Linked DNA regions of Homo sapiens: regions 1, 2, 3, 5, 6 and 7 are each linked to region 4. The links are contacts of gene promoters, found by promoter capture Hi-C in blood cells and fetal thymus (Javierre and others, 2016). All regions are on one chromosome and are shown on one strand. The core of a region is centred on a gene start or on the middle of the fragment in contact, and the rest is flanking DNA. Distances in the headings are between cores, read along the strand shown. Region 1 has its middle 2.3 kb from the start of HMX2. Region 2 overlaps C10orf88 (chromosome 10 open reading frame 88). Region 3 overlaps FAM24B (family with sequence similarity 24 member B). Region 4 holds the start of EDRF1 (erythroid differentiation regulatory factor 1). Region 5 overlaps IKZF5 (IKAROS family zinc finger 5). Region 6 overlaps BUB3 (BUB3 mitotic checkpoint protein). Region 7 overlaps PSTK (phosphoseryl-tRNA kinase).

What was found. Contacts are between HindIII fragments. The CHiCAGO score rates a contact against its expected background, and 5 or more counts as called.
Region 1: a fragment that was not itself captured here is called in contact with the fragment with the promoter of EDRF1 in region 4 in 1 of 17 cell types (monocytes); the score reaches 6.6 in monocytes.
Region 2: a fragment that was not itself captured here is called in contact with the fragment with the promoter of EDRF1 in region 4 in 4 of 17 cell types (non-activated CD4 T cells, naive B cells, naive CD8 T cells and 1 more); the score reaches 7.0 in non-activated CD4 T cells.
Region 3: a contact is called between a fragment that was not itself captured here and the fragment with the promoter of EDRF1 in region 4, in 1 of 17 cell types (total CD4 T cells). The highest score is 7.2, in total CD4 T cells.
Region 5: a fragment that was not itself captured here is called in contact with the fragment with the promoter of EDRF1 in region 4 in 8 of 17 cell types (fetal thymus, total CD4 T cells, total B cells and 5 more); the score reaches 9.9 in fetal thymus.
Region 6: a fragment that was not itself captured here is called in contact with the fragment with the promoter of EDRF1 in region 4 in 1 of 17 cell types (total CD4 T cells); the score reaches 5.0 in total CD4 T cells.
Region 7: a contact is called between a fragment that was not itself captured here and the fragment with the promoter of EDRF1 in region 4, in 1 of 17 cell types (non-activated CD4 T cells). The highest score is 5.1, in non-activated CD4 T cells.

The regions. Positions count from the first base shown.
Region 1 is chr10:123,144,353-123,147,295 of GRCh38, reverse strand. No RefSeq gene overlaps it. Among named protein-coding and RNA genes, the nearest start is that of HMX2, 2.3 kb to the left of the region's middle. The HindIII fragment of the contact is 2,307 bases long and covers 450-2,756 here.
Region 2 is chr10:122,946,992-122,949,769 of GRCh38, reverse strand. C10orf88 (chromosome 10 open reading frame 88) reads left to right here. Exons shown (of 6, transcript NM_024942.4): 4 at 915-1,121. Among named protein-coding and RNA genes, the nearest start is that of C10orf88, 5.8 kb to the left of the region's middle. The HindIII fragment of the contact is 3,733 bases long and covers 1-2,778 here.
Region 3 is chr10:122,875,680-122,878,555 of GRCh38, reverse strand. All of the region lies in intron 1 of FAM24B (family with sequence similarity 24 member B), which reads left to right. All of the region lies in intron 1 of FAM24B-CUZD1 (FAM24B-CUZD1 readthrough), which reads left to right. Among named protein-coding and RNA genes, the nearest start is that of FAM24B, 2.5 kb to the left of the region's middle. RefSeq lists enhancers at 1,726-2,245, 2,246-2,766. The HindIII fragment of the contact is 434 bases long and covers 1,248-1,681 here.
Region 4 is chr10:125,718,311-125,721,010 of GRCh38, reverse strand. EDRF1 (erythroid differentiation regulatory factor 1) reads right to left here and starts at 1,302. Exons shown (of 25, transcript NM_001202438.2): 1 at 1,096-1,302. The coding sequence starts at 1,203. EDRF1-DT (EDRF1 divergent transcript) reads left to right here and starts at 1,518. Exons shown (of 5, transcript NR_033847.1): 1 at 1,518-1,589. RefSeq lists enhancers at 419-1,401, 1,517-1,596, 2,077-2,186. The HindIII fragment of the contact is 5,171 bases long and covers 1-2,100 here.
Region 5 is chr10:123,001,653-123,004,352 of GRCh38, reverse strand. The region is part of intron 2 of IKZF5 (IKAROS family zinc finger 5); the gene reads left to right. Among named protein-coding and RNA genes, the nearest start is that of IKZF5, 5.8 kb to the left of the region's middle. The HindIII fragment of the contact is 6,203 bases long and covers 1-2,700 here.
Region 6 is chr10:123,166,136-123,168,835 of GRCh38, reverse strand. It overlaps BUB3 (BUB3 mitotic checkpoint protein), which reads right to left. Exons shown (of 8, transcript NM_004725.4): 8 at 1-2,700. Among named protein-coding and RNA genes, the nearest start is that of BUB3, 13 kb to the right of the region's middle. The HindIII fragment of the contact is 1,764 bases long and covers 388-2,151 here.
Region 7 is chr10:122,985,275-122,988,117 of GRCh38, reverse strand. It overlaps PSTK (phosphoseryl-tRNA kinase), which reads right to left. Exons shown (of 6, transcript NM_001363531.2): 4 at 1,743-1,818; 5 at 1,156-1,249. Among named protein-coding and RNA genes, the nearest start is that of PSTK, 6.3 kb to the right of the region's middle. The HindIII fragment of the contact is 2,226 bases long and covers 174-2,399 here.

The DNA of each region.
Region 1 (2,943 bases), core at 354-2,853, 2.6 Mb after region 4:
CCCATGGCCCACCCGTGTTTTAAGCGAATCTGTGTTTTTGTTTTGTAAATTTTGAAGGTTTCCGAACTGCTGCAGAAATAGACGCCTTACTCCCAGGAAGAAGATAAGGAACTGGTGACAGGACTCGGTTTTAGAATTGAGCAGACTCGACTCAATTCTCGGCTGGGTGATCTTGGGGGAAGACATTTGGAAATTCTGAGGCTCGGTTTCTTTATTCCTAAAATTGGAGGAAGCAGTGCCTCCCTCGCAGAGGCTGTTGTGAGGTCAAACTACCCAGCACCGAGCCTGGCACACCGTGGTGCTCAGTAAATAGTGATTCCCTCTGTGTTCTCATAGCCCCCTTCTGTGCCCTGGCTCTCGCCCCTTTAATTCCTAGATCAGCTGTTACCCGAGCTAGAATTAGCCCAGCCAAGCAAAGCGGTTTGGGGCCACAGTCGTCTGCACAAGCTTCCTGGAAACTGAAGTGAGGCAAGGCCCGAAGTGCTCAGGCAACCCCGTCCCCTCAAGCTGTGACCTCTAGACCTCTTGGCCAAGAGATTCCAGAAGCCCTGTCTTTAGGGTGCCCCCCAAGTGCAGCCAAGGGTGAGTGGAGACTCTGGAATCAGTCCCCACAAATGTCCAGACACTGCATGACTGTGCAGTTCCTTCCTCGCCTGCACCGCGCCCGGGTTATTAAGTAAAGCGCTTATAATATCATTAGCCGCGGTGAGTTACCGACTGCGGCCCTGCCCGTGGCAGAACTCTTCCCTACTTAACTCCTCGAGGGGCTCGTTAATGGGCTAATTGATTAGGAGTCGGCCGCGCAGCCGGGGCAGGGGCAGGCGAGGGGGCGGGGGCCAGGGGGTGCGCGCAGCGGCCCGGGAGGCCAGCGAGGGGCAGGTGCCGGCCTCCGTCACCGCATTAACCTCTTCAGGGCTCAGCGGCAGGGTCGAGACACATTACAAATGGTCAGCTTTAATCATGGTGTCAGCTCATTAACCCGGAAGGACCTGGCGCTGAAATACAATTTGTGCGTTCTCCTCTGCGCCGCGGCGGCGCAGGCTCCTGGGCCACGTCGCAGCGGGTCCCGCGTGCTCCCGCGCTGTTGGGGGGTACGCGGGAGGTTCAGCGAAAGAATCGTCGGATTCTCACTAACCATCCGCTTCTCGCAGACATCCTGAGCTAGGCGCTGCCTCCGGAGCCAGGGTCAAGGCAGCCCCGAGGGGAACTGGCCAGCTAACTCGGGGAGCAGTGCCAGCCACCCCGCTGGGGAAGAAAGCTGGGGGCAGGCAGGGAAAGTTGGTCGAACCTTCCTGAACTGTAAATATGTCGTGCGGGGAACATGCTGGAAGCTCCCCAGCATTCTTCGCTTTAATCCTGATGGCAAACAAGTGACACAGATCTATTCACTCAATGTACAGGCCGGGAAACTGAGGCTCAAGAAAACAAGAGACTAGCCCAGGCAGACAAAGCAAGACTCGTGCTCAAGGTTGTTCCACTGCCAATACATCACATTTGGGAGGAGGGAGAGAGGAGCAGACACAGGCATTGAGCTTGGAGGATGGCTGCGGGGAAGACTGTGAGGATCCTGCTGACTCGGGATGGCGGGGGCGGGTATATGGGTGGGGCAAGAGCCCAAGGAGTGATCTCTGTCAGATCAGGGGACCTCGAAGTGGGCCTCGGAAAAGCAACTCCCAGGCCCTGAAACAGTGAGAGACTGGGGAGTCGACCCTTGCAAGAAGCCTGGCTTGCGGACTCTAAACAAGGAAGTTATGAAGCCTTGCGTCCCTATCTCTCCTTCCCCTAGGGATAGTTTGGGAAGTCAAAAAGATCCATCTTGCCTTGTATTTCCTCTGTCCCGTCCCTCTAATCGCTTCGAGGGTCTGATCTTCACCGAGGCACTTCCTCTGCTGCCACACCCGGCAAAGGACGCATTAATTCGCATGAAGGCACTTGCATAAACGCCTGCGCACACTCACACATTCATTCAGCAAACGTTCACTGAGCTCCTACTAGTGCGTGCACTTTACCAGGGAAGAGATGGTGGTGGGCACGGGGCTGGGGCAAGGAAGGCTGTGGTGGAGACCCAGCTCTGCAGCCTGACTGACTGCAGTTCCCCTGAGCTCCCCTCGATTGATAGCCCGAGGGACCTCCCGCCCCTCCAGCACCTATAGCCGTCACACCGCAAGGACGGGAGGGACAAGAAACAACCTTCCTTGCCGCCCCTTTCTAGCATATGGGGATCTTCACCGGGAGCACGGAGGCCCAGACGCCCTCTCCTGGGCCCAGTGTAGCTACAAAACTCACTCCCAGGAACACTCAGTTCCTGGAACCACCACCCACAGACACCTCATGTCTCTCCCCTAACGAGTGGCAATCCTTCAACTCAGTACTATCCCACACCCCGCCCACCTCCCTAGCCTTGGGATAGCTCCGCCCAATCCTACTCAGTTTAATACCCACACCTTGGAGGATGGCCCCTCTGCATCTTTGGGATCGACCCCCTGTCTCCCTCTCCTAGGAATTAGGCATAACCAGGTTCCAAGGAATGATAAACTTTCTGAGCCTGAAAGAACGCTTAAAGTTTAGGTCCCGAGATTATGCCACTGCTCAATATTAAAGCGGCCCAGAGCAAACTTGCCGAGGATCCTAATAAAAATTGATCCTCTCTGCTCTGCGGCAGTTGGGAAATAGGCTGGCTGAGCCGGGTAATAGAAGAAGGCTCCCTCCGAAATGACAGATGAAGTCATAAACAAGTTTGATCTTGGAATCAAGCTTCGATAAATATTAAACACAGTCTGCCCCCCCGCCCCCACGCGAGTGGATTATGATATATGGCGCGTCCAAACTTTAAAATAAGGAAATACCAGAGAAAATGATCTCAATAAATTTTCTAAGTATAAACGTTGATTATGTTTCGATTTTCGTTCAAGGGCCTCTGCTGTTCGTTCTTTGGTGCAAATG
Region 2 (2,778 bases), core at 40-2,539, 2.8 Mb after region 4:
GTGGTGTGTTAAGGTCTCAGATTGGTATATAGCAGTTCTCCTTTATCTGCAGTTTCACTTTCCACAGTTTCCATTACCCACAGTCAACTGAGGTCCAAAAATATTAAATGGAAAATTTCAGAAATAAACAATTCATAAGTTTTAAATTGTGCTTCATTCAGCGTAGTGTGATCGAATCTCCTGCCATCCTGCTCAGTCCTGTCTGGAACATGAATCATCCTTTTGTCTAGTATGTCCCTGCTGTATATGTTACTGCCCATTAGCCACTTACTAGCCAAATGTATCATCAGAAGGTCAGTAGTAGCCTAATCCTGTATTACAATGCCTGTGTCATTCACCTCACTTCATCTCATTATGTAGGCATTTTATCATGTCACGTCATTACAGGAAGGGTAAGTATTGCACAGTAAGATTTAGAGAGAGGAGACCATATTCACATAACTTTTATTATGTTGTCAAAATTACTCTATTGTTAAACTCTTACTATACCTAATTTATAAATTAAACTTTATCATAGGTATGTATGTATAGGAAAAAATATAGGGGTTGGTACTATATGCAATTTCAGGGAGCCACTGGAGGTCTTAGAACACATTCTCCACAGATAAAGAGGAACTACTATAGTTTATTTTTAGTTCTTTAAATAGGTAAACATTTATTTAATCACCTCATTTGTTATTTTACATGAAGTCTTAATTTTTGAAAGGACTCTTATTTAAATAGTTCATCTGAGCCTCATGATAAATTGGAATTTTTCCTGACTATTGCTGTTCTAGAGAAAAGTTTAAAATATACTTGAAGTTAATTTTTAGATTCTTGAATACTTCACTCTTGTTTAGGTCATACCAAGAAGTTACATTAAATGATTATTGTTTTTAATATCATTCTTTTCTGGAACTTTTGTTTTATAATAGTTGCTCTCCTTTGGCGAAAGGCAGTGTGTGTTCATCAGTAAAGTTGTGGTACACATGAGATCAGTTTTTGCAAATTCTTCAACAAGCTCTCCTGCTCTAGGATCAAGGATAGACCTTGACAAGGTCCAAACCATAATGGAGTCCATGGGGTCAAAGTTATCTCCTGGAGCTCAGCAGTTGATGGATATGGTTAGGTGTCAGCAGCGGGTAAGTAGAAATGGATTTCTTTCCAGATAACATTAATGATTTCAAAACCATTGCTTTTAGTAAAGAAATGTAGTGACTTAAAATTTTTCTTTCATACTGATTTAACTGTTATCTTTTAGTTTTGTAGAAGTTAACATTTGTTAGATTTGCCCTTCTACAAAGTGTTTTGACTACACATTTTCACACTTTTTATGAATGCATTCATTCATTCAGCAAGATTTTTTTCTTGCAGTAAACAAGGCACTGGTTTGAGCAATTTTGAGTGTGCGAAGATGGTCAGTTAATCTGTAGTCTTTAAGAATTTTTACATTCTGGAGCATGTAAGTGGGGAATGATGAAAACACTAAGGAAAGGCTCACTAAAAGAAGTGGTATTTTATCTAGGCCTTTAAAATGTAGGGTGGGATTAGACAAGTAAATTTGGAAGAAGGCCATTTCAGACAAAAAATAAGGTGAATAAAATCTTCAATGCTAGAAGAATTTGATATAGCTGGGAAATGAATGGTAGTTCATTTCTCTGAAGCAAAAAAGTAATAGGCAAAGTTTAAAGTAGATTTCAGCTAGATCATAAACAGCTTGGGATGCTGGTTTAAATTTGTAGATGTTTTTGACTTATGTTTCAAGAAATTTTAAGCCACTGTCAAGTGTAAGGTGAATCTGAAGAAAGTGAGACTACAAGGAGAAGATGAGCTGCACGTCATTCCCCTCGTCCAGATGAGAGTGAATGAGGTCTAAGATTGGACGTAGTAACATAATGCTGGATGCTAAATGATGCTAAAATGATGGAGCCATTGGGACTTGACAGCTAACTTAATATTGGTATTATGATAGAAAAATCAAGTTAAACATGAAATTGAGGCTTTGAAGATGGTGATACTAATAATATAAATGCAGCCCAAAGGAGGAGGATGCTTGGAGGAAAAAGGAATTTAATTTTGGGAACATTGACTTTTAGCTGTGAATAAGACATTCCCTGGAAGGATGTTGCAAACATCTGGAAACAGAGGATTAGGAGAAATGGAATGAACCTTCAGTGGCTGGAAGGGAAGTTTAGGGGTGTACCCACAGTAGCTGACGGAGGGTGGTGAAGGGAGAGGAAAAAGGAACCAGAAACATAGAAGGCAGCAGTGTGATAGAGTAGCAAGAGAAACGATTTGATGTCAGGTAAAGTGACTTCAAACTCTTGTCCTGCCTCTTCTTAGTTCTGCATCCTATGGCAAGTTAATTAATATTTTTTTCAATATGAATTCCTCATGTACAAAATCTAAATGATAACACTGTAAGGATCACAGAATTGATGTGAAAATTTAAAATAAGTAATGCAAGTAAAGAACTCCTTGTAGATGTTGTGTGGTTCACAAATATTAATGTAGTACCAGTATTATAATATGGGCTGAGTTAAGAGAACCAGGAGAGCTGAAGATTATGGAAACCACAGAAAGAAGAATTTCAAAAAAGATGGAAATGTATACTTTTCTTCCTCCCACACCATGTTCTCACCTGGATACCTCAGGAGATTCCTAACTGGCCCACCTGTCCTGCTACAATCTGTTTTCCACAATGTACCGAGAATGACCTCAAAGGATAATTGGATCTCATCCTTCTCCTGTGCAAAGCCCCCTGACTGCTTGCCTCCCTTTGTACTTAGAATTAATCCT
Region 3 (2,876 bases), core at 215-2,714, 2.8 Mb after region 4:
CACCATTACTTTTTTTTTTCTTTTGAGATGGAGTTTCAGTCTGTCACCCAGGCTGGAGTACAGTGGTGTGATCTCGGCTCCTGCAACTTCCGCCTCTTGGGTTCAAGCGATTCTCCTGCCTCAGCCTTCTGAGTAGCTGGGACTACAGGCGTGCACCACCAGGCCCAGCTAATTTTTGTATTTTTAGGAGAGACAGGGTTTTGCCATGTTGGCCAGGCTGGTCTCAAACTCCTGGCTTCAAGTGATCCGCCCGCCTCGGCTCCCAAAAGTGCTGGGATTACAAGCGTGAGCCACCGCACCTGGCCACCATTACTTCTTAACAGGCATACAAAGCCCTTTATCCTTGACTTCTGCCTGCCTCCTAGACCCCCCAGCTTTTGTACATGCTTTTCCCTCTACCTAGAATGCCCCTTCTTTTGGATAGGAAAAATCCTGTTCATCATTTAGTGCCAAGCACAGCCCTCCACACTGTGAGAGAATTTGTCAGTAATTTCTCTCTGCTACACTTAGAGTTTTTAGATACTATAATTCTCTTCTGGTATGGAGCTTTACCAAATAATTCTCACATTTGTTTTCCCAACCATCTGTACAGTTGTTGAAAATAGGAATTGTTTTGTGCCTAGTAGAGATTGAGTATAGGTTTGTTGTATGGAATTGATAGAGATAGCAATAGGGGTTGTTTGGGAACTCTATCACAGTATAACAGGAGTAGAAAGAGGTGAAACTGGCAAATTCAATCTTATTTTCAAAGCTGAAAAAACTTTGCAAAAGTTAGTGAGAAAATTATGACAGTGAAAGAGATCTGAGCTAATCCATCCCCAGTCTTGCCTTGATTATTCTTGGGCTTTTGGGACATTTAGGCTATAGTTTAAATTATCATAGGCCTTCCCCCAAACTCAACTGCTTTTGCATCAGGCTGGCAGGAGGAGAGGAGCCTGGGTCCTGCTAAGGTGCAGACATGAACTATTATCAGTTATTATTCAGAAGGTTATAAGATATGCAACTTCCCCAATTATTCCTGCAGATAACACCACTATTGTAGACTGGCCTTTTGAGATATCTTTTCAGGGTTTTTTTGCATGTCTGACACCCACCATTCCTACAGCCCCACCCAGAAGTGACTCAATGTGCAAGAGGACAGCTTCACCCCTTGTGATTTCATCTCTGCCCCAACTAATCAGCAGCAAGCCTAGCGACCTCCACCACTTCCCCCAAACTGCCTCTGAAAAATCCCTAACCTATAAGCTTTGGATGAGAATTGTGGCTGGCCTTATGTCTATTAAACTCTTTCTTTACTACAATGCCATGATCTTTGTGTAGCAGGCAGGAAGAACCCTTCAGATGGTTACAAAGCCAGGGTGTTGTGCTGGTGCCTAGGTGACCTCAATTTTAATGTAAATTACTCTTGTCGTGAATGGCAAATGGTATTTTTTGCTTTATTTTTATTTTTTCACTTGAAATAAAGAATAAGGCATATCTTTGAAATCTTTCCACCAATATCACAATGTATTTTTTTGGCTTGACTGTTTTAAAGAGAAGTTTATTATATATAACTTGTAGAATTTAGAGTAGAATCATATATGTATCTACTGTTGCTAACAGAGTGCCTTTGCATAGTGGCAATCAAACACTTTAGTCCCAGGACCTTTTACCCTCAAAATATTGAATATTCTAGAAAGCTTTTGTTTTTGTGTGCTCTTTTCTTATTTTTTAACACTTCTGGTTTCATCTGTGACACGTAAACCACTTAGAAGTCAATCACAACTGTCCTCACAAGAAAAAAGCTGAACAAATGGAACATTAACAGCCTTTAAAATATCCATCAGATAATGGAGGTCACAAAGCAAATGGCCACCCCCAAACTGGGTAGGCAAATACAGAAAATCACAACTGATATCAGCATGCTAGGAACAGAAATCCTCATGAGGCAGCAAATGGTAGGAACACTTAAAATGGTCATTGATGACTTGCTGGATGCTGAGTGTGAGTTAGCTTGACAGTTAGAAACTCCTGGGAGACCACTCATATGGTGCCCTTACACTTTTGGGAGTTTTACTTTTCAGAGCTGCAGCAGATTCTTAGGACAAGGATTGGATTAAAACTCCCTCCTGCTTTGTGCAGAAGGAGGGGGCAAAGTAACCTTTTTGAAAACTGCCCTCAGCATTTCCCTAACAAAAGCCTTCTCTCAAGGGAAAGTACTTTACCAGAGCCTTATCTGTTCTAGGGAAAGGGCAATTAGAAGATTCCAGCCCCCTCTAGCCTTCCCGTTGTTAGTGGTAGTGAATCTGCAGGGGGCTGCAGCAACCTCAATTCTTGTCAGAAGAAAGAATTCGACCAAGGGTCATAAGGAAGAGTGAGAGACCAAGGCAAGTTTTAGGGCAAAAGGAAAAATTTATTTAAAAGCTTTAGAGGTGGAACAAAAGGAAGTAAAAGTACACTTGGAAGAGGGCCAAGCAAGCGCCTTGAGAGATCAAGTGCGTGGTTGGACCTTTGATTTTGGGTCTTACATGTTGACATGCTTCCAGGGTTGCATTATTTCTTGCTAATTCTTCCCTCAGGGTGGGCTGTCTGCATGCTCAGTGGCGTGCCAGCACTAGGGCGGGGCTGTATGCATAGTGTGTTTACTGGAGTTGTATGCATGCTCACTTGAAGCATTCTTCTCTTACCCATCAAATGTTCTTAGAAGGTCATATACCAGTTAAACTCTGCCATTTTGCCTCTTAGTGCACATGCTTGAACCCACTTGTCCAACTCCTGAGATCTTATCGGCAAGCCGTTGATCACCAGTTTCAGGGTTTTTTTTTTTAATTAGGAGACTGCCTTTCCCTAGTGCCAGCTGTGACCAATTATTATCAGACTACATTTTATTTAAAAGG
Region 4 (2,700 bases), core at 53-2,552:
AAAGATGAGTCAAGGAGTATGATGGTTATGGTTATCAGCTAGAAAATGGACCACCCACATCTCTTTTAAAATGTATTCATGTAAAGTGGAGAAGCAGAAACCAAGGAGACTCAATGGTATCATGTTAACTAGATGCAAACTTTAGTAAAGCCTATTTTCAGTATTAAAGATGTATTTTAATTCTTTTTTTTTTTTTTTTTGAGACGCAGTCTTGCTTTGTCGCCCAGGCTAGGGTGCAGTGGAGCAATCATGGCTCACTGCAACCTCGGCTTCTGGGGTTTACGCCATTCTCCTGCCTCAGCCTCCCTAGTAGCTGGAATTACAGGCGTGCACTACCACGTCCGGCTAATTTTTGTATTTTTAGTAGAGACAGGGTTTTGCCATGTTGGCCAGGCTGGTCTCGAACTCCCCGACCTCAGGTGATCCACCCACCTCGGCCTCCCAAAGTGCTAGGATTACAGGCGTGAGCCACCGCGCCCGGCCAAAGATGTATTTTAATTTTAATAACACATCATTCATAAAATAGTCTGGTAGAACATTTGGGCTTTTTGTTTTAATGCAAATATTTAGTAATCGATGCATCGGTTCATGCATGCATGCATGGTTCAAATACTCTTGAGTCTCTAACTTCATAGAAAGGCATTGGGGGTTCGTTCCTCACAGCCTGCACTTGCACACTCCCAAAGCAAGTTCGGCGTCTGGGTTCAATATTCTAACCTTTCACGCAGTACCTCTTCTGCATGGCAAACATTTTACACCCTTTGTGAATTAGTTCGGTCTCATTCTCGGCGAGTCACTACCTGGCACCGTTTCTTCCCTCCTGCTTTGCACGACTGTGCCACGTTTTGGAACGACATATTTACATGTACCCTCCTTGAGAGGAAAGATCGTATCTAATTCACCTGTCGGCTACCAGAACTGCTTTTAATACGAATACCTGCCGACTGGAGCATGGACTTCAACTCCCTGTTTTGGGGGTGTCAGGGAAACATGGAGAAGCCTCCAGAATCTGCCGGGAACCGTGGCATCCCTCCCCGGTGGAGCGGGTCCTCCGCTCCCACATCCCTGGCAGGTCCCCCTCCGCGGAGGACTCACCTGTGCAGAAGATTCCTCGGATTCTCCCTGGGACAGGAGGCTGAGCCCTCCTCGAGCGGCGGCCCCGGCCGGCGGACCCTCGGCTCCGGCCTCCTTGGCATCCCCCATCACTTCGATCCAGGGCAGGCGATACGACGGGGGAGCGGAGGAGCAGCAGCAGCAACGCAGGCCCAAAGCAGGGTAAGCGCCAGAGACGCTCCGCGGACCGCACTTCCGGTCTCTGCCAGGAAGAAGTAGCTGTGACTCGCCATTAAATCTCGCGATCTTTGTCCCGAAGGCCCGGCCCCGCCTCCCGCTGCGGGTGCCACCTTCGCGGCCAGGGCGGGAATTGTAGTGCGCCTGCGCTTGTCCGAACCTCTTCGGGAGACTACTTCTCGCGGTATCTGACTCCTAGGCTCCGCCCTCTGCACGCCGCTCACGGTATCTGACGCTCAGGCTCCGCCCCCTGCATGTCTTTGTTGGCAAACAGTTCTGGGGGTCGTCCGATCCTGCAGGTAGTGTCCGCGTGGGAGGGGAGGTGCAGCCGTCAGCGCTGCCGGCGGCTCCCGTTACGTGAATTAGTGAGAGGTTCAAACTTCTTCCCCAGGCTTCAGTGTCACATCTTTTCACACGGGCACCCCGAGGGCCCGGACTGGAAAGGCGAGCCAGCCATCTCGAGACTGGGCGCTCCTGCCCGCCTTTTAGTGCCCATGTGGCCCCATCCTGGGTGTGGGAGCGGCGGGGCTTCCGGGGAGGGCGCTGGGACGCGCGGACGAGGCCCTCCCCGTTTAGGGAATGGGTGGCTTTCGGAGTCTTCTGGGGGCCCGGCATGCCCGCTGCTTGCGGGGCGTCCCAGGTGGTGCAGGACCCGTGAGACGCTGAACCTGGGGCCTCGTAACGCCTAGGTTTCCATTCGGGCGCTCTGGATGGGTCCGAGACTCGGCATTTCTCACAGGTTCCCAGGAAACGATGCCAGCGCTTTGAGTAGCGAAGAGGTGGAGAAATAGCCCGGGCCGTTTGCAAGCTTTGAAGGTCCAGGCTCTCTTTCACACTCCTCAGTGTCATCTCAAACTGTCAAACGCAGCCACATCCGTTATACAATACATGTTTTGTAGTAAAAGTGTTTTGTTGTGCCGTAAGATACAGAAAGTGTTTTTAAAAATTAACTTGGCTCTTGCAATTTGGCTGTCTCAATTTGTAATTCACGTTTGGCTCTTACAACTCACTGTCCTGTCCGTTTTCAGGAATGCTCCTGATGAGTAAGCATTCAACTCACAAATTGCTTTCAAATGTAACAAAACAATTTTATGAATTAAATTTAACAGGCCGGGCGCGGTGGCTCACGCCTTTAATCCCTGCACTTTGGGAGGCCGAGGTGGGCAGATTGCCTGAGGTCAGGAGATCGAGACCAGCCTGACGAACAGGGTGAAACCCCATCTCTACTAAAAATACAAAAATTAGCCAGATGTGGTGGTGGGCGCCTGTAATCCCAGCTACTAGGGAGGCTGAGGCAGGAGAATCGCTTGAACCTGGGAGGCAGAGGTTGCAGTGAGCAGAGATGGCAACACTGCGCTCCAGCCTGGGCGATAGTGAGACTCTGTCTTAAAAAAATAATAATAGTGAATT
Region 5 (2,700 bases), core at 1-2,500, 2.7 Mb after region 4:
TTGCTTCCAGAAGCCTGTCAAAGTATATTCAGACATTTTCCAGGAGAAATGTATAGTTTTCATGTGAACTGATTGGCAAGAAGTGATGCTAAGTTACAATGTAAATACTGGGATTTCTTTCTTAATTATAGCTTTTATAATTAGAACGCAGACAATCTGTAGGGCTATACAGCTTTTACAAATTAAAAAAATATTTTCCCAGATCTTATTCTTGATAGTCTTTTTCACTGGAGCTGACTAGCTTACATTTTCCCACCAAGAGCAAATTTAAAGGACAGATAATCAGCACAATCAACTGTAGTCACAAAACAAATAGTAACACAATGATAAAGAAACAGAGAACTAGTTCAAATAAACATGATAAGATGGGGAAAAAAACAACGGAAACAAATGTGTTCAAAAGCCAACAATAATCCTTAAGATTCAGAAAGCTGAGCCAGACTAAAGCAAGTGATTTAAAGAGGTGGCCTATAAGTAAAATAAGCAAAGATCTGTTTGAGAAATTGCAAAGTGATTTGAAAAATTGCAAATTGGAATTACTTGAGACTAAGGTGGAACATGTTTGTTTCGTTGTAACTAAGAAACAGATGCTCAGTATATTTTTCAACCACGTTGATGAACCCATAGAAAAAGGGGAATAACGGAATCAGGGGTGGTGAGAATTTTAAAATCTAAGTTATAACCATTTTTTCTATTTGCTACAAAAATAATTATTAGAAAAATAGCCGCCATTTTCTGATAGCCTACCATATGTGATACATGTCACAATATGCTTTATGTATACTTACCTATAAAACTTAAGATAGCACTGCAAGTTGGATTATGATTCCATTTTACAAAATAGGAAACTAAGGCTGAGAGAGGTCCCTGTTCATAGTCTTAAAGTTGTCCCTCCATATCTGGTAGGTACTGGTTCCAGGACCCCTGTAGATAGCAAAATTTGCGGGTGCTCCAGTCCTTTATATAAAATGGCTTAGTATTTGCATATAACTCACAATCTCATCCTCTTGCATACTTTAAGCTCTAGATTATTTATAATACCTAATACAATGTAAATGCTATGTAAATAGTTACACTGTATTGTTTAGGGAATTATGACCCCCCCCCCCACAAAAGTCTGGTGAAACCCCCTCTCTACTAAAAATACAAAAAATATCAGCCGGGTGTGGTAGCGGGCACCTGTAATCCCAGCTACTCTGGAGGCTAAGGCAGGAGAATTGCTTGAACCTGGGAGGCAGAGGTTGCAGTGAGCCGAGATCACGCCATTGCACTCCAGCCTGGGCAACAAGAACGAAACTCCGTCTCAAAAAAAAAAAAAGAAAAGAAAAAGTCTGTACGTGTTTAATATAGATGCAACCATCCATTTTTTCCAAATAATCTTGTTTTGCAGTTGGTTGAATCAACAGATAACAGAACCTGTGGATATAGAGTTGACTATACTCTACTTGTCCAGAGGATAAACTTTCAGTAGTCTCAACTTCCTAGACAATTTTCTAAAAAATAGGCTTTTCTACCTGAAAAGGGGTAGTAATACTAATAATGTTTTGGTTTTTTTTTTTTTTTTTTAGACGGAGTCTTGCTCTGTCTTCCAGGCTGGAGTGCAGTGGCACAATCTCAGCTTACTGCAGCCTCCACCTCCTGGGTTCAATCAATTCTTCTGCCACCACGCCTGGCTAATTTTTTTGTATTTTTAGTAGAGACGGGGTTTCACCATGCTGGCCAGGCTGGTCTCGAACTCCTGACCTCGTGACCTGCCTGCCTCGGCCTCCCAAAGTGCTGGAATTACAGATATGAGCCACCGTGCCTGGCACTAATAATTTTTTTTTTTTTTTTGGAGACAGAATTTTGCTCTGTCGCCAGGCTGGAGTGCAGTGGTGCGATCTGGGCTCACTGCAACCTCTGCCTCCCGGGTTCAAGCGATTCTCCTGCCTCAGCCTACCGAAAAGCAGGGATTACAGGCGCCTGCTGCCATGCCCGGCTAATTTTTTTGGTATTTTTAGTAGAGATGGGGTTTCACCATGTTGGCCAGCATGGTCTCCATCTCTTGACCTCGTGATCCACCCACCTCGGCCTCCCAAAGTGCTGGGATTACAAGCGTGAGCCACTGCGCCCGGCCACTAATAATTTTTAAAAGCCCCTAGAACTACCGTAGCTTCTAAAAAGGGAGGAAAGGAACGATTCACAAGTATTGAATTAAGAAAAGAGAATTCAGTTACCTGTAAGTCCTTATTTGGCTAAATATGTTTGGAACAAAGAAGAGACTAGATGTGAAGAGAGAAGACAAGAAGTACGAAAATAAGATAGATCAGTCTGAAGCCAGGAAACAGGGAAAACAAAAACAGCCCTGTTACTGAGTGGTTGTAAAGTACAATAATTCATATTAATGGTATGTCAAATGTTGGTCTATTTCCAGTAGATTTCGAGTTAAGTCAAAGAAGAAGTTTTGATTCTTAAAAAGTTGGTCATATTTTTGTAAATTGGAAAATCTGCTTTTGCAGAACCCCCTCATTCCTCAACCCTACAGTTCTACTATTTAAAAACTTAGGCTGAAAAGGCCCAAGAACAGCCTATTCTTGAAGAAGAAAAACAAAGCAGGGGGACTTAAATTACTGTGATAGCAAGACTTATTATTAAGAGTATCTGGTATGGCAGCAAGGACAGATAGGCTAGTGGAACAGAACAGAGAATCCAGAAGCAGAG
Region 6 (2,700 bases), core at 20-2,519, 2.6 Mb after region 4:
TCATGCCTGTATCCCAGCACTTTGGGAGACCAAGGAGGGCGGATTACCTGAAGTCAGGAGTTCAAGACCAACCTGGCCAACATGATGAAACCCGGTCTCTACTAAAAGAAATACAAAAATTAGCCGGGCGTGATGGCGGGTGCCTGTAATCCCAACTACTCGGGTGGCTGAGGCAGGAGAATTGCTTGAACCCGAGAGGCGGAGCTTGCAATGAGCGGAGATCGCGCCACTTGCACTCCAGCCTGGGCGACAGAACGAGACTGTGTCTCGAAAAAAAAAAAATCACAAAAAATCTCACGTTTTACAAAAGTTTATGAATTTGTTTTGGGCCACCTTCAAAGCCATCCTGGGCAGCATGTGGCCCATGGACAACAAATTGGACAAGCTTGCTCTAGAGGATGACTTCTAAGTATAGCTATGGGCATCCCCCTCAAAGTGGACACCATGCAGGCTGTGTGGCTTGTGCAAGTCACACCATCCCAAATAACATCTTTAAATTTGTCTACCCAGGCATTTCACATGATGTAGCTAACAAAAACTTTTGCTGTTAGAGAAATATACAGAAAATCCTGAAGGATGGATATACACCAAGAATGTTAAAAGTAGCTGCCTCCTATGAGATGAGTAAGTTCTGGAGCCCTGACATACAGTGTGGTGGCTATCTTAGTAATAATGAATTGTATACTTGAAATTTGCTGAGATTATTTATTCTCACCACATAAAAAAATGACATAGGCCGGGTGGGGTGGCTCACGCCTATAATCCCAGCTCTTAGGGAGGCAAGAGGCGGGAGGATAGCTTGAGCCCAGGAGTTCGAGACCTGCCTGGGCAGTATAGCGAGACCCCGTTCTCCAGAAAAAGGAGAAAAAAAAAAAGCGTAAAAAATTACATAAATTTGTAAATGTAATTTGTCAACTTGTAAATTTGTTTAACTCAATTTAACAAGGTGATGGAGATGTTTAGTAACCTCCTTGTGGTAATCATTTCACAATGTATACATGTATCAAAACATTATATACCTTAAATATATACAATTTTCATCAAATACCTCCATGAAGCTATAAAGAAATTTTTAAGTTATATCATAGGATTGTGATAGTATGTTTCATTTTTTGCATGCTATCCAAATTTTTCTGCAGTAAACATATCACTTCTAAGACACTAAATGCTTAATGAACAAAGCCAAAGGTCACCTGTCTAGTGCACTGGACAAGATGTCTATACTCCAAAATTATATTTCAAATTATTTTAAAAGGAGTCTATATAATTCAGCAATATCAAAGTGGTCCAACAGTCATGTGCCAGAGCATACAAAAAGATGTGGTCCTGCTCTTGCTTTAAGTAGGAAAGCAAGATGTACGCATACAAAAATGTTTAAATGCCAGGCAATATGAGGAACTACTGCTAAAGGTATACAAGCAGGAGGTGTTTCATACGTGTTTTGAGAAAGGGCACACTTATTTGTGAGCTGCAACAAGGAAGAAGGGCTTCATGGAAAAGGGGGCCTTGAACAGGACTTTGCAGGATTCAAATTAAATCCTGAAAGAGCAATTCAGAAAGAGAATGACCCTGGGCAGACTGAGATTTGGGAATCAACACAAGCGTCGGAGTGATAGTGAAGAAAGTAACCTGGCTCTCAGCGTAAGAGAAGAACCCCAGTGTTTTCTGGGGGAGTGGTAAAAGGTAAAATGATTGTGGGAACAAGACCAGAAAAAGTAGAACCGGCTTAAATGAATTTGGGGAAAACTGAGTTAAACAAATTTACAAGGATTCGTTGTAGTGATCTAAGCTCTCAGTAGGCTAATGTGCGTTGAGTCCCCACTGAGGGAAGGAAGCTAGTGTTATTAGGGTATAGAAGATACCTTTGGCAAAGCAGGAGTTTAACAGATAATGGAGGAAAAACAATGAAGGGTTTGAATGCTAAGGCTAAACTGGGCATTCTGGCCTTGGTCCTTCTAACAAGGCCTGGATCTCCCACAGAACAAAGGCTAACCTGCTAATATACCTTTAAGTTTTTACACAACAGAACTCAGAACCAGATATTGCTGTCACTTCCCATCCCATCCACTTATTTATATTCCCAACAAAGGTTAGTCCCATCTTCTGAGAGCACCTTACAGTCCGCGGCCCCTTCCTGATGATCTAGAAGCTTGGGAAGCAGCACACCTCCTTATGAAATCACTGAAGGGTGACTATGAGCAACAGGAAGCAGTGGAGGATTCCAAGTATGACATCAGAATACATTTTTTAAAAATCTTTTAGAAATTTTTTAGAATCTGATCAAGCAGTTTTTGCAAATTACAGGTGACAGGCATTTGTTGTAAAATCAATTCAAGGTGACATAGCCAGGATTTCTTAAAAAGCAAAGAAAAAAATGCACACATGCACCAGATACATCGCATGCAAGAAGGGCAAGTCATATTTCAGGATCCTTCTGTCATGTATAATATACTGACCTCTGTGTTCTGAACTGTAGTTCAAAATGTATTTCTTACTTGGGTCACAACTACAAGGTTCAAAAGTCACTACTCTATTAGATGGAGGACTTAAGGCAGAAATTGGAGGCTGCCACATTCACCCAAAAGGCCCTGGGATGGTAGCAGTAGGAAGAAAAGATAAACAGAAGAGACACTTAAAGAATGTGGGTGAGGGAAACCAATGAGAAGGCCAAGGTAACTACACCTGGGTAACTTGGGGAAA
Region 7 (2,843 bases), core at 37-2,536, 2.7 Mb after region 4:
ACAGAGTTCATTAAACATGTGAAGGTGTTTTGTGAAACTTGTTTCCACACATGAGTTCGTGTACTGGGTTATACCCTGGGTTACAATATAAAATCAACTGGTAGATCATAGTTTTATACAAATTCAAAAACAGTATGGCTGGTATATTGTTTCCTTTTCCAGTGTTCTAAGCTTTTGTAAAGGTAATAAATGATGGTGATGCAGGGGAGCAGAATGGGAAGCACAGACTGGAACTGGATGTAATTCTGGACCCCAGGTTACCCAAATATTTAGTAGCTGTTCAGTCTTGGACAAGTTACTTGTTCCTCTATGAACTTCCATTTCCCCATTTGTAAAATTACACCTACCTTATAGGACTGTGAAGATTAGAAACAGTATTTGTAAAGCGCTTAACGTATAGAAAGGTGCTCAAAAAATGTTCATTGCTGGTTTTTAAAGGTACAATTTTAAATATAGCAATACAGTATTCAAAACCTAATGGAATTACTGTGTAAAACTCTAGTTACCACATATTTCATCTATTATATAAATTCAGATTTATAATACATTGACTTTACTCAAATTCCATGCTGATCTTACACCTGGCCCCTGACTACCTTTCCCCCCTTCTTACCTCACCCCGTGCTCAATGGCCTCTTCTCGATTCTGCAACACTGCAACCAGCCAACCTTTGCGCTTCTGCACTTGATGTGTTCATTGCCTAGAATGATCCTCCAGATAGCTGCATGGTTCGCTCTTACCCATCTTTGCTTAAATGTCATCTCTGAGAAGGCTTCCTGATTACCTTTTTAAAAATAAATCCTCCCATCACTACACTGCCTTACCTTACTTAAATTTTCTTCAGAGCATGGGCATATACTCATGTAATCATGTTTTGTCTGTCTCCTCATTAGAATGTTCTGCTCCCTGCCGATTCCCCAGCATCTAGAGTAAGGCCTAGTACAGTAAGGCAACTCAGTAAAAATTTGTTGGATGGATGAACACTCAGTTCCAGAGGTAGAATTTTTAGTTACATTTAGTCAAATTGCATAATTAAATTGAAAACATGATGTGAACTTTTATGACTGAAAACTAATAAACTCTGAGTGTCGGGAATAACAGTAGCAGTAGAAAGTCACAATCATACCAACTCAACACATAACTGACACATCATACCTTTTGCTTCCTTCATTGTCTGAGATACAATCCTTCGGAGTGTCTGATCAGTTTTATGAAGAATGTTAGTTGAACAAATAATTCTGTCTGTGTCCTATGTTAATACAGACATTGTTATTAGAAGTCACATAGTTTTATAAAATAAATGGCTAAAGAATAGGTCACATGTATTTGAAAGGACTAAAAGAAAAGTTTAAGCGGCTTTTCTGTTTGTTATTCTTCCCTACAAGAGAGTCCAACCAAATCAGATCCAGTGGTAAACTGGGTTCCAGCTAGGCGGTGATATGCTGGTGAATGTCTAATAATTGACTCTCCCAGAAAAAAACCCCAGACCTATCTGTAGTGTTTGCCAATTTCTGTGATGTAAACATTCCTACCAACAAACCATCAACAGGCTCCAACACTTTTGAAAGTTTAACAATCGGCTTTGCCCAGCCGGCATGAGCTGTCAGCAGTGAGTGCTGGTGAGAGGCCAAGCCAATGACAACGCATCTCCCGTTTCACTCACATTTTATATTCGGCTCAAAAGATCTTCCTACAAAAAGTTGTTCCTTCTCATTTACATTAAATTTACACTGGAAGTTTACCTTTTGTTCCATATTGTCCTCAGCATATTTTACTGGATTTTCCAAAGCAGTGAGCAATAAATCAGTCACTTCCAGGCTACAGAGAAAATGGGATAAAATACAATAGATCCTTATATCCAACATCTGACTTTTTTTTTTTTTTTTTTTGAGATGGAGTCCTGGAGTCTTGCTCTGTCACCCAGGCTGGAGTGCAGCGGCGTGATCTCTGCTCACTGCAAGCTCTGCTTCCCGGATTTGCGCCATTCTCCTGCCTCAGCCTCCCGAGTAGCTGGGACTACAGGCGCCCACCACCACGCCCAGCTAATTTTTTGTATTTTTTAGTAGAGATGGGGTTTCACCGTGTTAGCCAGGATGGTCTAGATCTCCTGACCTCGTGATCCACCTGCCTCAGCCTCCCAAAGTGCTGGGATTACAGGCGTGAGCCACCATGCCCAGCCAACATCTGACTTTTAAGGAACTTGTATTTATGAATATTAAACTGAATTCTAGAGGAATGAAACTGCTATAACCCAAGATTCTTAACAAAAGGAAAAAAACTAAATGATTTAGAAGCTAGCTTCCATGTAGACAATCCAAATGCAGTAGCTCAAAACAAATGATAAGCTAAGGACCCCTCATTAAAAAATACCAATTTCCTAAGACTCATGTCAATAAGCTTTGAAAAGTCATTCTCTTTTCCCCTCTTAAGGCTGAACCGGGGGCCACAAGAGCTCAACTTTATTCTCTATGGAAAGATGCCTGGTCTTTACTTTCTGGCTCCCGCTTATTTACTGGATATGGATGAGCAAAGTTTCTCACTGAGCAAAGGTCCATGAAGGTTTCAGGTAGAATTCATTCATTGATTTAACAAATATGTATTGAACGTCTTATATGAAAAATACTGTACAACCACATGCTGAGCTGGGGGTGTAGCAAGATCCTTGCGTTTGCCAAGGCTGATAATGTAATAGAGACAGATAAACAGTTAAATAAAGCAAAAAATAATTTCAGATGGTGGTAAGTAGATAAGTGAGCAAAGACAATAAAGTGACAATGATAAGAGTGACAGGGTAGCCCAACTAATGTTCTTTGCTTTAGTTAGGATGGTCAGTGAAGGCAGTC